Regions from separate parts of the Homo sapiens genome. Here all the other regions are linked to region 2. The links are contacts of gene promoters, found by promoter capture Hi-C in blood cells and fetal thymus (Javierre and others, 2016). All regions are on one chromosome and are shown on one strand. The core of a region is centred on a gene start or on the middle of the fragment in contact, and the rest is flanking DNA. Distances in the headings are between cores, read along the strand shown. Region 1 holds the start of LOC105374137 (a long non-coding RNA gene). Region 2 holds the start of SLC9A9 (solute carrier family 9 member A9). Region 3 has its middle 37 kb from the start of CHST2.

Region 1 (4,653 bases), core at 397-2,896, 710 kb after region 2:
TTTCACAATGTGTTCTGTTTAGTATGTAGTAGCTCTGTTCTCTGCCATTTACTGGAGTTATAGACCATGCTGGCTGTCAAAAATTATATAAATGAAAGTACTTAACCTGCCACAAAGAAACAAAGAAAAAGTAAGATGTTGGATATTAAAATGCAAGTTACCACAACCAGAATATTTTCATCAGAGTGGTGAGGTAACCATCTATAAGCAATTAAGACCTCCTGGAAGTCCTCTGATATTTTGGGGGGAGAATGGGAATCATAACATTACTGTAAGTTAGAGAACTGACCCACAGTCTGTAGAATGGGGACTGGAAGAAGTAATGACCAGAAGACAGAAGTTATTGCAGATGGTTTGAAAAGCCCGGAAGGGCAACTGCCAATGGCAATGCCAGGACCACATCCCCATAGAGACAATGTTATTAGTCATCACTCCCACTTCCAGGAGAGCAAACCGCAGCTACAAGGAATATGAATGTGTTCCTCTCCTGCCCCCAGCTTGAAGCTTCCTAATATGCATTTTTAAGCAAATTCTTAAGTTACAGAAAAGAAGTGACTCATTCTTTCTGTCTCACATTATTAAAAGTTGTGCAAATCATTTATGTTAATATGCATATGTATGGTAACATGCATGTATGTTCCTTAGATGAGACTCTGTTTTTCTAAATTCACTCAAAATGAATGTGTTATAGCTGGGTGTAAAACTCTTAGGGTAAGAAATATATTCTTACTAAAGGGGATAAGTGGAAATCAGAAAAGAAATGAATAGATTTACATTGTCATTTATACATAATGTAATTTGTAGGGTGTCTGACAAACCAAACTTTCTCATCACCCAAAAACAAGCTCAGAAATGGAAATCTTAGTCTTTTTATGTGATTTATACAACGCTTGTTTGCCTTCATCCCTCCTAATATCATATGCTTGAAAAGACTCTAAGAATCGAATCCTGGACCCAGCCACATGGCTAAAATGCTGCAGGATGGAAGCCCAGAATTCATTTTAACATGTATTATTCCCTAGACTGTGACAGAATTCAGGTTTCACTTAGCCTTCTCCAGGCTCCCAAAACCAAGAATCTAGTGGGTTGTTAACATATTCATAGGTAAACAAATGCTCAGTCCTTTGGCAGGCTGCCAGGACATGGTGCCAGGAAGGGATCCAGGCAACCATGGTGAAGCTGTGGGGGTCTTTCACCTCCCTCACTCTGTGGGACTGGACTACTGCAGATGCCACACCTGGCTTTCTGAGCATCTTATCTGTAAATTTATGGAATCCTGTGGACAAGATACCTACTGGTAGAGTCTTGAAATGCAGCCAGAATTACTGAACTGAGGTGGTACTCTTTAGGCCAGCACAACCACTCCAGGCCAGATGTTTGCAAAATGCAATTGACTATAAGTCTGTAGAGCAATCCTTCCCAAAAGCACAGGAATCACCTGAGGATCTTATTAAAATGTAGATGGGAGGATCGCTTGAGCCCAAGGGTTCGAGGCTACAGTGAGCTATGATCGTGCCACTGAACTCCAGCCTAGGTGACAGAGACCCCATCTCTAAAAATAAATAAATAAATAAATGCAGATTATGATCTGGCAGTCTAGAGAGGGGCTGATACTGCTGGTCCAAGGACCCGACTTTGAAGAGCAATGCTGTAAAGTGAGACCATTCCATACACAGTAAAATAAACATGGTTTGGAGGCATCCCGCGTGCCAGACACTGTGCCTTCTGCTGGAAGCACACAGATAAGACAAGAGCCCTGCCTTACAGGAGCTTGTCCTGTAATAGGAGAAACAGCTTATAACACACTGGGTAAATTCTGCACTTGTTGAGATTCTTTGCACTATAAGGAAGAAAACATCCAATCTACAGTGGCTCAAACAAAAAGGAAATGTAACTGGCTCCTCTAATTGCAAACCAAGGGTAAGGCTGACTTCAGACCCATTTTAGCAGGGCTAAAATGACTTCACCAGAACCTAGCTTCCCTTTGTCCACCAGTCTGTGGTTTCTCTCTCCGTATCTTTTGGCTCTGCTCTCCACAATTTGACTGTCTTCTAGAGGCACCATGGATACCAGTCCTTATGTCTTCTCCTCTTTAAATAAGAATGCCTGCCTAACCCCGAAATCTGAGCAAAAATATCAAGATATCTCATTGGCTCTAATTGGGTCATGTGCTCAGTCCTTAGCCGATCATTTTGGTCTTGGGAAAGTCAGCATGGCAAATGCTAGAGTTGTGTGTGAAGTTAGATCCAACACAACCACATGCACCAAAGAAGCAGGAGACAGATTTCCAAAAGAAAATCAGGGCTTGGATGCTGGGCAGCCACTGTCCCACAGTCAGTGCTAAGAGGTGTTTTAGAAGCATGAGCAGGGGGCAATGAGGGCATGGAGAAAGACACCGGTACCTGATAAACACTATCAATGTGTGTGTGTGTGTGTGTGTGTGTGTGTGTGTGTCCCCAGATACAGGGCAAAATGGCAAAGTGCACACAGTGCCAGTCTGGAAAGGACTGCTGATTGGTTTCTTGGGGGCTTTTAAGTCAACCCTCCTCCACCCCTACCTCTACCATGGTGCAAATCAGTCACTTCAGAAATAGTTCATTCACTACTTCCTGTGCAGGAGATAAGAAATGAAAAGTGTGGTTTAATTGCTCCCAAGGTGATTAAATTGCCATATTGACCAGACTGACACACATCTAATAATTTGAGGCCAATATAAAAGACTGTGCAGCTGAGTGCTAATTTGTGCAAAGAGAAAGGAGACATTGGTGTGGGCTAGAATAGAAGCTTCCACAGGCATTGAACAAACAGATGGAATAATGAGCTGGTTTATGCATTGGAACAAGACAAGACCAAATGAGTTGTAGGAGAGGACAGTGCCATCTTCAAAAGCAAGCACAACTGCAAGAGTTGAGTGCCCAGATCAATGACTTCCTCTCCGCCATGACCCTTTCTACCATTACTCATGATTTCAATATCCATTTTAGGAACCCATTTGACATCCTGGCCTTTCAGCTTCTTATCATCTTCGTGCTCTGATTCAACATAGCTACTCTTGTTGTTGATCAGTGACAACCTCACCACCCCAGAAATGTAGGTTTCAAGAATTCTTACCCACTACATTTCTGCATTCTATCATACCATAACCATATATATATTTCAAATATCTGATCTCATAGAGTTCCAGTCCAATATTTCTCCTACTTTTTCCCCATCCATTACCCATCATCCAACTATCCATCTTCTCCACACCTGAATAAAAGCAGCAGAATGTAGCTAGAAAAAAAATCATGCAACCTTTAAATTCATTATAGCCACAAATGTCCAAAATAGCAATGATGATTCTGATGACAACCTTGGTGATATCATTTATTAACATTTATTGAGTATCATTATGAGACAGCCTTATTCTCAGTTCTGAGTCAGTGTGTAATTTTCTTTGGCTTAATTTAGCTCGGTATTTCTCAAGGGGACCACTATTAACATTTGGAGCAGGACAATTCATTATGTGGGACTGTCCTCAGCAAGGCAGAACATTCAGCATTATTGCTTCCAGCCCACTAAATGCCAGTCCCATTCCCTAGTCATGGAAAAAAAAAAATTCCAAAGGCTGTCTCCCAATCTTTCCCCCAACCAGATTGCAGGGACCGTCCCACACCCAGCTGAGAACCACTGGCTGAGTAGAAAGAGCACTAAATTGGGCATCAAATCTGATACATACCATATTCTGTGACCTTGAGCAAGTCACTTAGCTTCTGAGTTTCAGCTTCTTCTATAAGAGAAAGATCATAATCCTATTTCTGCCCAGTAATCATAAGTTTCAAATGATCTAATAAAATATTAATGAGAATATTTGCTGTATCCATTAGGACTGTACTTGGCTGTGAGTAACAAAGTCGGCAGCAACAGCTTAAACAAGTAAGTGTTTATTGTTCCCACATCATAGGTATTCTGGAGACCAGTGGTCCACGCTGATGAAGTGGCTTCATGATGTCATCAATATCCCTGGCTCCTCTTTCTGCAAGCAGCTTTTACTCCCTGGCTCCCTCTCAGTCACAAGGTAGAGGCCCCACTTCCATACTCAATCTGCAGACCAGCCAGAAAAAAAAAAAGGAAAGAAAAAGGACAAAACAGGCAAGAAAAAGTTCTGCCTATATCAGATATATAAAACTTACCCAGATATCCCCAGCAGAATTCCATTTACATCTCATTGGCTGTCACATGATCATTCCTACCTACAAGGGAAACTGGGAAATATTTTTAGCTGAGCATATTGCCTCCCTGAACAAAATCAAGGTTCTACGAATAAGAAAGAAGGGGAGAATGGGCAGTGGGTGGGAAATCAGCAATATCTGCTGTACTTGTTAAACTTACGAAGCATTATAAAAGTATAAGGCGGCATGATCATTAAACCCTGAAAGAAGGCATATCATAAAATACAGTATCTGCATGAATTTCACTACATGAATTCCATCTGGTGTCCCATTTATCTGCATTACTTAAGGCTAAGTAAGTGAATGGTCTTATTTATATCCAACAAGCATGGTGGCCCAATTAACTACTGAGGCACATCTCTGCCCACATTTTAACATAGCAATGCAGAGTGAAAAACCTTGTATGTAGTGGACTCTAAAGAAAATAACCCCCAATTAGTCA
Region 2 (4,379 bases), core at 897-3,396:
AAAGAAGAGGGATGAATGGACTTGTGGCAAGCTGGTTGCAAATGCAGCAGGCAACCACTCAGCCCCAACAGATTGTGGCCATGTAAGAAGGGCCCAGTGTGCCAGATCTTACAAGTTTTTCTTGCAAAAAGCCATATGATTTTTTAAATGTTAAATATACTGATTTGAATGTGTTGACATCAAACCTAAAACTTTTTAAAAAGACGTGTAAGCCAATCAAAACATTCTATGGGCCATTAATCTTTTGTCAAGTTGCTTCATTGGTTAAAAGAGTGAAACTGGATGTCACGGATCAACCAGAGAATGTTTATTCTACTCAGATGGAATAATTGTGATAAAAGAAAACCAAAGTAATTCAATAATGACAAAAAACAAAAGGACAGGAAGTTTCTGAATTTGTGTTATCTTGTATATCTGACAACTCGACTGAACCTGTGGAGTTGCAAAATCATAAAGGTAGAACCTGCTAGCAAAGCTCCATGAAATGCTTGCAAGCATTAGCTGATAGGTTTCAAAACAGTATGAATATTAGTCATCACAGATATTCCTGCCAAAAAGGGTAGCGTGTCAGAAGAACATCTGCAGCACACATAAATACCCTCTGCTAAGTTAAACTCAGAGAGGAAATAAGCTTCCAAAGTTGCACAAAGCAAAGATGCTGAAACAGCAGAGCTTTGTATTAAGGGGTTGATAGACTTGCTCTCATGGTGAAACTGTTTGTTGAGGAGGTAGTTAGCTCCCAATAATATTACATGCTTGACCTTTAGCTTTTAGTGACAAAAATTGTTTCAGGACGCATTTGGGCTCAGCCTACTCAATAAGAAATCACATTGTATAAATTGAGCATTAATTGTGTCAAAATGGGGATCATAAGTGATTAATACTCCCAAATTACAATGATATGGTAAAATGAAAAAAAAAATCAGCTAACCCCAGGATATACCCAAATGTGTTATAGGATCAAGTGTTAAAAGCAAGCAGGTCATAATATTTGCTAAGAAAAAAGAAAGAAAAGGAAAAAAAAGCTGCAGAACCCATGGTATTATCTTGAACTATTTTAAAGTAGAAAAATATGAAATCAGACAGGAGCAACCTGCCACATGGAAGATGATCTGAAGAATCATCACTCTTATGATCAGAATCCTGTGAATACAGAGCTTTCATTTCTGGTGGCAGAACCATTTCTCAGTGAGCAACATTGTTTTGCCATAGGACAGAGGAGGTTGTGATCTATTGCAGATTTCTGTGGGTCCTGGATGCCGAGACCAGGAACCCTACAAAGAGAAATCCATGCATGTGGCGTTGCTGAGGATGGCTGCGTGAGTTTCTCTTTCGAAGTAATGTGTTTTGTTTTTTTTCTTTTTTGTCTCAACGTATCCAAACAGTACAGTTGTAGAGATGGGGATGGAATTTTATTTGTCTTTTGCTTTCATTGTTTTCTCTTGTTAAAAGAAAAACAATTGATTTAGAGTTTAAAGGCTGCTCTGCAACTATCAATTATATAAAGCCAAATAGAGTCATATACTAAATCCTTTCTTGCTTCTCAACTAAAAAAAAAAAAAAAAAATCCTGTGAAATCACTTTAGGTTTGCTTAACCAATGTACAGTCATGATTTGAGAGCATAAGAAACCCTATAAGAAACCCTATGCCTTAAGTGAATCCCATTGTGAGATACTTGAGCTATGAGGCGGAAGTTTCAGGCTAAGCAGTGTAATATCTTTTCAGGAGGCTAATATGCTGATCCATTTAGAGCACAGAGGCTGATTGATAACTGTGCTATCAATCCCCATCACTTTGGCAGGTCTTGGTTAGAGAGGAAAGATCTTGCATTTAGGTGAAGTTGAGTCAGGAATTGGCTTTTTGAACTTAGAAAACGTTGCTAGTGTAAGGCTACCTTTTTTATTATTAATCTACAGTTCATATTTATGCAGCTTAAGAAGACTTATTTGGAATAATAAGACCGTGATTCAAGATCTTAGCATCATTGCTTGCAGATTTGTCCAGTATGAAAGATATTTTCATGAGATGAATCACTTAAAGACATTAAGAGTCAGTGATGAAACCACACACTCTCGAGTTTGAAAAGAGACAGGGCTGCTTTAAGAGAGAAACAGGAAGTTGTAACTAGAAGCCATCTGAATACTAAGCCAGGGCAGAATGCTTGTGAAGTAGCAACTAAAGTGGCAGTGTTTCTTCTGAAATTCTCAGGCAGTCAGACTGTCTTAGGCAAATCTTGATAAAATAGCCTTTATCCAGGTTTTTATCTAAGGAATCCCAAGAAGACTGGGGAATGGAGAGACAGTCAAGGGTTATGTCAGAAAAGGATGAGTATCAGTTTCAACATCAGGGAGCGGTGGAGCTGCTTGTCTTCAATTTTTTGCTCATCCTTACCATTTTGACAATCTGGTTATTTAAAAATCATCGATTCCGCTTCTTGCATGAAACTGGAGGAGCAATGGTGTATGGTGAGTGCATAAATTGTGAGATTGATGTGAAACTTGTTGCTTGAGCGTAATTAGAGACTTGTGCTCAGATAGCAAAGTACCGAAACTGGAGAAAATGTGCTGATTGAAATGTCATTAGTTTGATGAAAGGTGCTGCAGCGTAACGAATGCTAATCTCTTTACAGACAAGCCGCCGAAATTTGCCATGTCACGAGAGCAAATGTCACAGTCATGTTCTCACACGGCACATAATGCAAGTCTGTTGACAGATGCGGGTCCATTGTCATGTGGGGAGTCGAGGGCGAGCTGTTTGTTTTTGTAATGATGTTGGGAAGTGATGGCTCTGCAGTCACAAAGAGCAGCCTTCTCTCACTGGCTGCACCGATGAACATTACGAAGTTCTAGAAAAAACATCACTTCAAAATGCCTGGAGTAATTCCTCTTATATCAACTAATTTCAAGAAGAAAACTTGCAGAAACTAACCCCACCCCTCTTAAGAGAATATTGTGTCCAAGTCCTTTTTATTTATACGAACAGTGTCTTATTTTCTTATAATAAAAAGTTATAAATAAACGAGAGTTTCTTTATGCAGTACTTTTTACTTCTTAGCCTGATTTCAGATGTTCTAATTTATAATGATCATTGCTAGTGTTATTTGTTATGTATCTCCTATTTATGTATTGGAGGCCAAGGTGTGGAAAAATATTTAACACCTGCAGTATTGCTCTTTCTGGGCAACTTACCGTATCATTCCTTTCAGAAAGTTTAATAAAGTCTGACAGAGATTATCTGTCTGTACTCTCATCTTTTAAAGTAAAATGAAAGACACCAGTTTTTACTGGTGTTACTGATGAAATAGTTTACTTCACTGCTCTTATCTCAGCCTGATAATGGATAGGAAGTTTGAACACAATGGCAACAGGCAAGGCATTGCTATAATTTATAGCAAATAACATACTTTTATATTTGGGGTTTCCTCATTTTGGAAATCCTGAAACCCTTTCCTAAGCCTGAGATTCAGGGTACAGATCAATGCACATTGTATATGCTAATCCTGTGGTGTCCTGATATTAACAGTGTATAGTTGTGATTTCAGAACCTAAGGAATCCTAAGCCTTAAGTGGATCCCACTGTGAGATACTTGAGCTATAAGGCGGAAGTTTCAGGCTCAGGAGGCTGATATGCTGATCCATTCAGAGCACAGAGTTAAATTCCTTGGTACTGAGGGTCTTTTAAAAATTTTTTGCTTGGGAGTGGGGAGGGACAGCATTAGGAGATATACCTGATGTTAAATGACGAGTTAATGGGTGCAGCACACCAACATGGCACATGTATACATATGTAACTAACCTGCACGTTGTGCACATGTACCCTAAAACTTAAAGTATAATTAAAAAAAGAAAAAAAACATAACCCAAATGCAAAAAAAAAAAAAACCTTTTTTTGCTGTATTGTTTTATTTATTTTTTAAAATTTAGTGGAGACAGGGTCTCACTATGTTGCCCAGGCTGGTCTCCAACTCCTGGCCTAAAGAGATCCACTGACCTTGGCCTCCCAAAATGCTGGCATTACGGGCATGAGCCACCATTCCCAGCCAGTATTGAGGGTCTTAACGGGCACAAGAAAACTCTCATTTAAGAGAAAAAAAAAATCACAATCAGGTGGGAGAGAAATAGCCAAACAAAAAGGAGGGGATGCCATCAGATGTGAAGCCCTAGGTTCCTGTCATTTGCCTATCTCCATCATGAACAGAATTTTTCTCTTGACTTGACTAATAAGTAATCTGCAAGGATATGGAATAGAATCTGAGAAGCCAGAAACAATGTAATTCTTGATATCATATTAAAGGGACATATGTGCTTTAGCAAAACTACCCAGATTTAATAGATTGCCAACCTTTATTAGAGGGAAAGATTTCTTCACATCCCTGAAT
Region 3 (4,918 bases), core at 207-2,706, 690 kb after region 2:
AGTGTGTGGTCACATCAGGATTTGAACTCCAGTCATTCTACTTACAAAGCTTATGCTCTTAAGCTTGGTATTAGATTAAACTGACTCTCATACCCAACCTAATTTCTAGTTGGATGTTATTTGAGGTTTTCATAAAATGTGAAATTGGGAAAATCCTAGTGCTTCAAACCAACACCCAAGCCCTATAGCAGAGGGCTGGTTGAAAAGAGCTGGGATAAATGTCTGAGGGACCTGTCCTGACCATAGGTTTTGTACTGCCCTGAAGGATGGCCCAGAACACCACTCAGACAACAGCAAAGCCAACCCCACCTGCTCATAACAGCCCTGGCAGTGAGGATTGGAATACTTGTAGGAAACATGGAAAAGGGGAGTCTATTGTTTTGTTGTTTTATTGATAAATTAACTTATTTCTCACATTAAATGGGAGGAAGATGAGTACCTCATAGAATGTAGTGAACATCTGCTGTTTGGGGTTTACCACCTGCTCCCACTGGGGACTCTCTATTCAAGGTGTTCTGCCTTCCCACCAAAGATGAGCATGTGACCCAGGCTATGGCCAAGGGAAACCCTCAAGAATTGAATCTTGAGGGGAGAGACACATAAAGAAGTTTCTGGACTTGACTCATCCTAGCAGCCATGCCCTGGACACAGTGATGGCTGGTTCCTGTTACTGTGCTTCCTGGGGTTTCCCCAGTCACTGTTGTCCCGAAACAAGATCCAACAGCTGCTCCTTTAATTCTGTGAGCTGCCTCATAGCCTCCAGCACATTTCTTTTTCTCTTACGTTAGCTAGGATTGGTTCCTGTTGCCTGCAACCAAAAAAAATCCTAACTGAATTTCAAGTGACCAGGGAGATGCATCATTTGGCACTGGTGAACTGCATCAGAATCCACTACAGAAATCAAGAGGTGACTAATGTGGAAGAGCTAATGTGTGGAGAACTGTGGGCTATTTCAGGAGACAAGGACATGAGGGAATCAGCTCTGATTGCATTGGGTTTCTGCACAGTTCTACACCCCTGAAATCTTCTGTCCCTTGCATGATTCACATCTTTCACTGTTATTCACCATTTAAACCCCCAGATTTGTTGTCCTATGATAAGTGGCTCAGCTGTCTAGAACATGATGCTAATGAGGGCAGCACTTCTGACTTGATTCTTGTGGGCCAGTTACCTTAGTTCTGAGTCACAGACACTTGAAACCTGGTCAAAGCTCTTTTGACATTTCATGGAGCCAAAGTAATGAGGTTGATGGACAGCACTAATCAGTGCCACAAATTCAGGTTCAGCTCATATTTCTTAAGGCCCTTCTCCATGCCAGGTAGTGCATTAGGCACTCCAAATGCATGACCTCATTGGCTGTCCAGTAAGCACTGTGACAAATGAACTTAACTGAATTACAAATGAATGACATAACTACATTGAAGAAGGTGAGGAAGAAAGGATCTGAACTAAGTCACTTTGGAAAACAGTATCTTGACTGGACACTATAAGGCTAAAGACAAAAAGAATGTACATAAATACTGTACTCTAGTTGGTAAATTTGTTTCTCACAAGCGTGCTAAGTTAGCAATTCTGAAACTACTTTGTGTGCTAGTGTTGAACATTATAAGTAAACATATTATAGATAATGAAAACCAAGTTTCTTTCTGTTAGAGAAAGAAGTTATCAATAAAGAAAGGGAGATGGCTAGAATAAACCCTGTGGGGCTGGATTGGAGCCAGAGATAGCAGTGTGAACTTATGGCTATTTTATTTTATTCTGGCAAAATATACATAACATAAAACTTACCATCTTAATCCTTTTTAGGTGTACAATGCAATGATATTAAGTACATTCACATCGTTATGCAACCATCACCATCTACCTCCAGAATTTTTCTATCCTTCTGAACTGAAATGTTCATGCCCTTTGAACAATAACTCCCCATTGTCCCCTCCATCCAGCTCCTAGTAACCACCAGTCTACTTTCATTCCTCTATGAACTTGACTATTCTAGATACTTCATATAAGTGGGATCACGTAACATTTATCCTTTTGTGTCTGGCTTATTTCACTTTGCATAATGTTTTCAAGGTTCATCCATGTTGCAGCATGCATAAAAACTTCATTCCTTAAGGTTGTATAATATTCCATTGTATGCATATGCCACATTTTGTTTATCCATTCATCCATTAATAGGCATTTGAGCTTCTTCCACCACCTTTTGGCTATTGTGAATAATGTTGCTATGGACTTTACAGTACAAATGTCTGACCAAGTCTCTGCTTTTGATTCTTTGGGGTATATACATAAAAGTGGAATTGCTGGATCATCTGGTAGTTTTACATTTCACTTTTTTTAGGGACTGCCATATTGTCTTCCACAGTGACTGCACCATTTTATACTCCCTAAGGCAATACGCAAGGGTTCTAATTTCTCCATATTCTCACCAACACTTGTTTTCTGTTTTGAGGATAATAGCCATCCTAAGAGGCGTGATGTGGTACCTCATTGAGGTTTCAATTTGCATTTCCCTAATGATTTCTGATGTTGAGTGTTTTTTCATGTACTTCTTGGCCATTTGTATATCTCCCTTGAAGAAATATCAGTATCAAGTCATTTGCTCATGTTTAATTGAACTGCTTTGTTGTGGTGGTTTTTACTAAGTTTTTGGAGTTCTTTAAATATCCTGGATATTAATCTCTTACCAGTATATGATTTACAAAAGTTTTCTCCCATTTTGTAGGTTGCCTTTATCTTCTAGATAGTATCCTTTGATGCACAAAAAATTAATTTTGATGAAATCCAATTTATCTATTTTTTGGCATAATATCCAAGAAATCATTGCTAAATCCAGTCACTAAGCTTTTCTCGTGTGTTTTCTTCTAAGAGTTTTATAGTTTTAGCTCTTATGTTTAAGTCTTCAATCCATTTTGAGTTAACTTTTGTGCAGGGTGTAAGAAGTATTTCATGATTTCAAAATTTTGTGCGTGGCATAAGGAGTATTTCCTGATTTTAAAGTATCAGGAAATATTTCCAAAAGCTGATACCTCCAGCTTTATTGTTCTTTTTCAAGATTGACTTCGCTACTCATGGTCTTTTGTGGTTCTATATAAATTTTGGAATTTTTTTTATTTCTGTAAAGAAAGTGCCATTGAGATTTTGATAGGGATTGTTTTGAATGCATAGATCACTTTGGGTAGTATGGGCATCTTAACAATATTAAGTCTTCCAATTAATTAACATGGGATATCTTTCCATTTATTTACATCTTCTTTGATTTCTTTCAGCAATGTTTTGTAGTTTTTAGTGTTCAAATCTTTTACCCTCTTGGTTAAGTGTATTCCTACTATTTTATTCTCTTTGATGTTAATGTAAACGGTCCTTTCAGATCGTTCATTGCTAGTCTATAAAAATGCAGCTGTTTTCTTGGTGTGGTGATTTTGTAACCTGCAAGTTTGCACGATTCATTTATTACTTAACAGTTTACTTGTGCAATCTTTAGAATTTTCTACCTGTAAGTTTACGTCATCTGTGAACAGAGATAATTTTACTTCTTCCTTTCCAATTTGAATGCCTTTCATTTCTTTTTCTTGCCTAGTTGTTCTAGCTTGCCTAATTGCTGTAGGACTTCCAGTCCTGTGTTAAATAGAAGTGGTGAGAGTGACTGAGTATGATGCATTGGATTTTGAAATAGAAATAGACACTTAGTAAAAAAAACAAAAACTGGGAAAATTCTAATAAAGCCTATAGTTTAGTTAATAGTATTATACCAGTGTTCATCTCTTAGTTTTCATAATTATACTGTAGTTATTTAAGATTTTAATGCTAGAGGAAGCTTGGTAAAGAGTATATGGGAACCCCGCACTATTTTTGTAACTCCTCTGTAAATCATAAATGATCTCAAAATAAGTTTTTTAATATCTGAAGGAAAATAAAAGCATACAGAGTAAATACATTGGGAGTCCTGAAATATCTTTCTAGGCAAATAAGGCATACTTTCACTTTTCATTAGTTAATTACCCATAGTAAGTGTCCACCACCTCTGCCACTCTGGTATATAAAGTCCTAGAGGGCAACTGGCCAGACATCACATTAAAGAAGCACTATGGCACTGGACTGAGTCAATTCTGAATTTCAGCTTTGGGGATTTCTCAGGGCAAAGTTGTTTAATATCTCTGAAATATGAAAATATCTTTCCAGGATTGTTGTGAATATTAAATAAGGTCATGGTTAAAAAAGCACTTAATCCATGGCAGGTATTTAATAAATATCCTTTCTTTTCTCTTGTTTTAAACATTTAAGACTACAAAGGGAAAACGAGATATGGTACCTTTCACATAAGGGCCTTACATTCTAAATTGGGACAAAATGTACACATATGTTAAATAATTATCAAATAATAGCTTTACATTCTATTACAAGCAAGTGCTAAGATCCAGTAGCGAGTGGGACAGTGTGCAGCAGAGCACAGCACACACAAAAGTAGAGAAATGTGAGCTGGCATCCCCGGGGCAGCCTTCAAAGGAGTGGGGCTGTACTGAGCTTGGTGTGCACAGATAAGAAAATGTTGGGGGTGGTCGGGTGCGGTGGCTCACACCTGTAATCCCAACACTTTGGGAGGCCAAGGTGAGTGGATCACCTGAGGTCAGGCATTCGAGACCAGCCTAGCCAACATGGTGAAACCCCGTCTCTACTAAAAAATACAAAAAATTAGCCAGGCCTGGTGGTGGACACCTGTAATCCCAGCTACTCAGGAGGCTGAGGCAGGAGAATCACTTGAACCCAGAAGGCAGAGGCTACAGTGATCCACTGTACTCCAGCCTGGGCAACAGAGCGAGACCCCATCTCAAAAAAAAAAAAAAAAAAGAGGAAAAAAGAAAAAAAGGAAAAGTTTGGGGCTGAGAGAGGCAATTGAGCCTAGGACAGGAAGAGGCAG

The links. The method cuts DNA at HindIII sites, captures the fragments that hold promoters and counts their contacts. A CHiCAGO score of 5 or more calls a contact.
Region 1: a fragment that was not itself captured here is called in contact with the fragment with the promoter of SLC9A9 in region 2 in 1 of 17 cell types (M1 macrophages); the score reaches 5.9 in M1 macrophages.
Region 3: a contact is called between a fragment that was not itself captured here and the fragment with the promoter of SLC9A9 in region 2, in 1 of 17 cell types (M1 macrophages). The highest score is 5.7, in M1 macrophages.

Annotation. Positions count from the first base shown.
Region 1 is chr3:143,131,148-143,135,800 of GRCh38, reverse strand. LOC105374137 (a long non-coding RNA gene) reads left to right here and starts at 3,003. Exons shown (of 3, transcript XR_924554.3): 1 at 3,003-3,090; 2 at 3,867-3,915. The HindIII fragment of the contact is 2,280 bases long and covers 507-2,786 here.
Region 2 is chr3:143,846,235-143,850,613 of GRCh38, reverse strand. SLC9A9 (solute carrier family 9 member A9) reads left to right here and starts at 2,146. Exons shown (of 16, transcript NM_173653.4): 1 at 2,146-2,466. The coding sequence starts at 2,292. The HindIII fragment of the contact is 4,941 bases long and covers 634-4,379 here.
Region 3 is chr3:143,154,516-143,159,433 of GRCh38, reverse strand. No RefSeq gene overlaps it. Among named protein-coding and RNA genes, the nearest start is that of CHST2, 37 kb to the right of the region's middle. The HindIII fragment of the contact is 2,781 bases long and covers 66-2,846 here.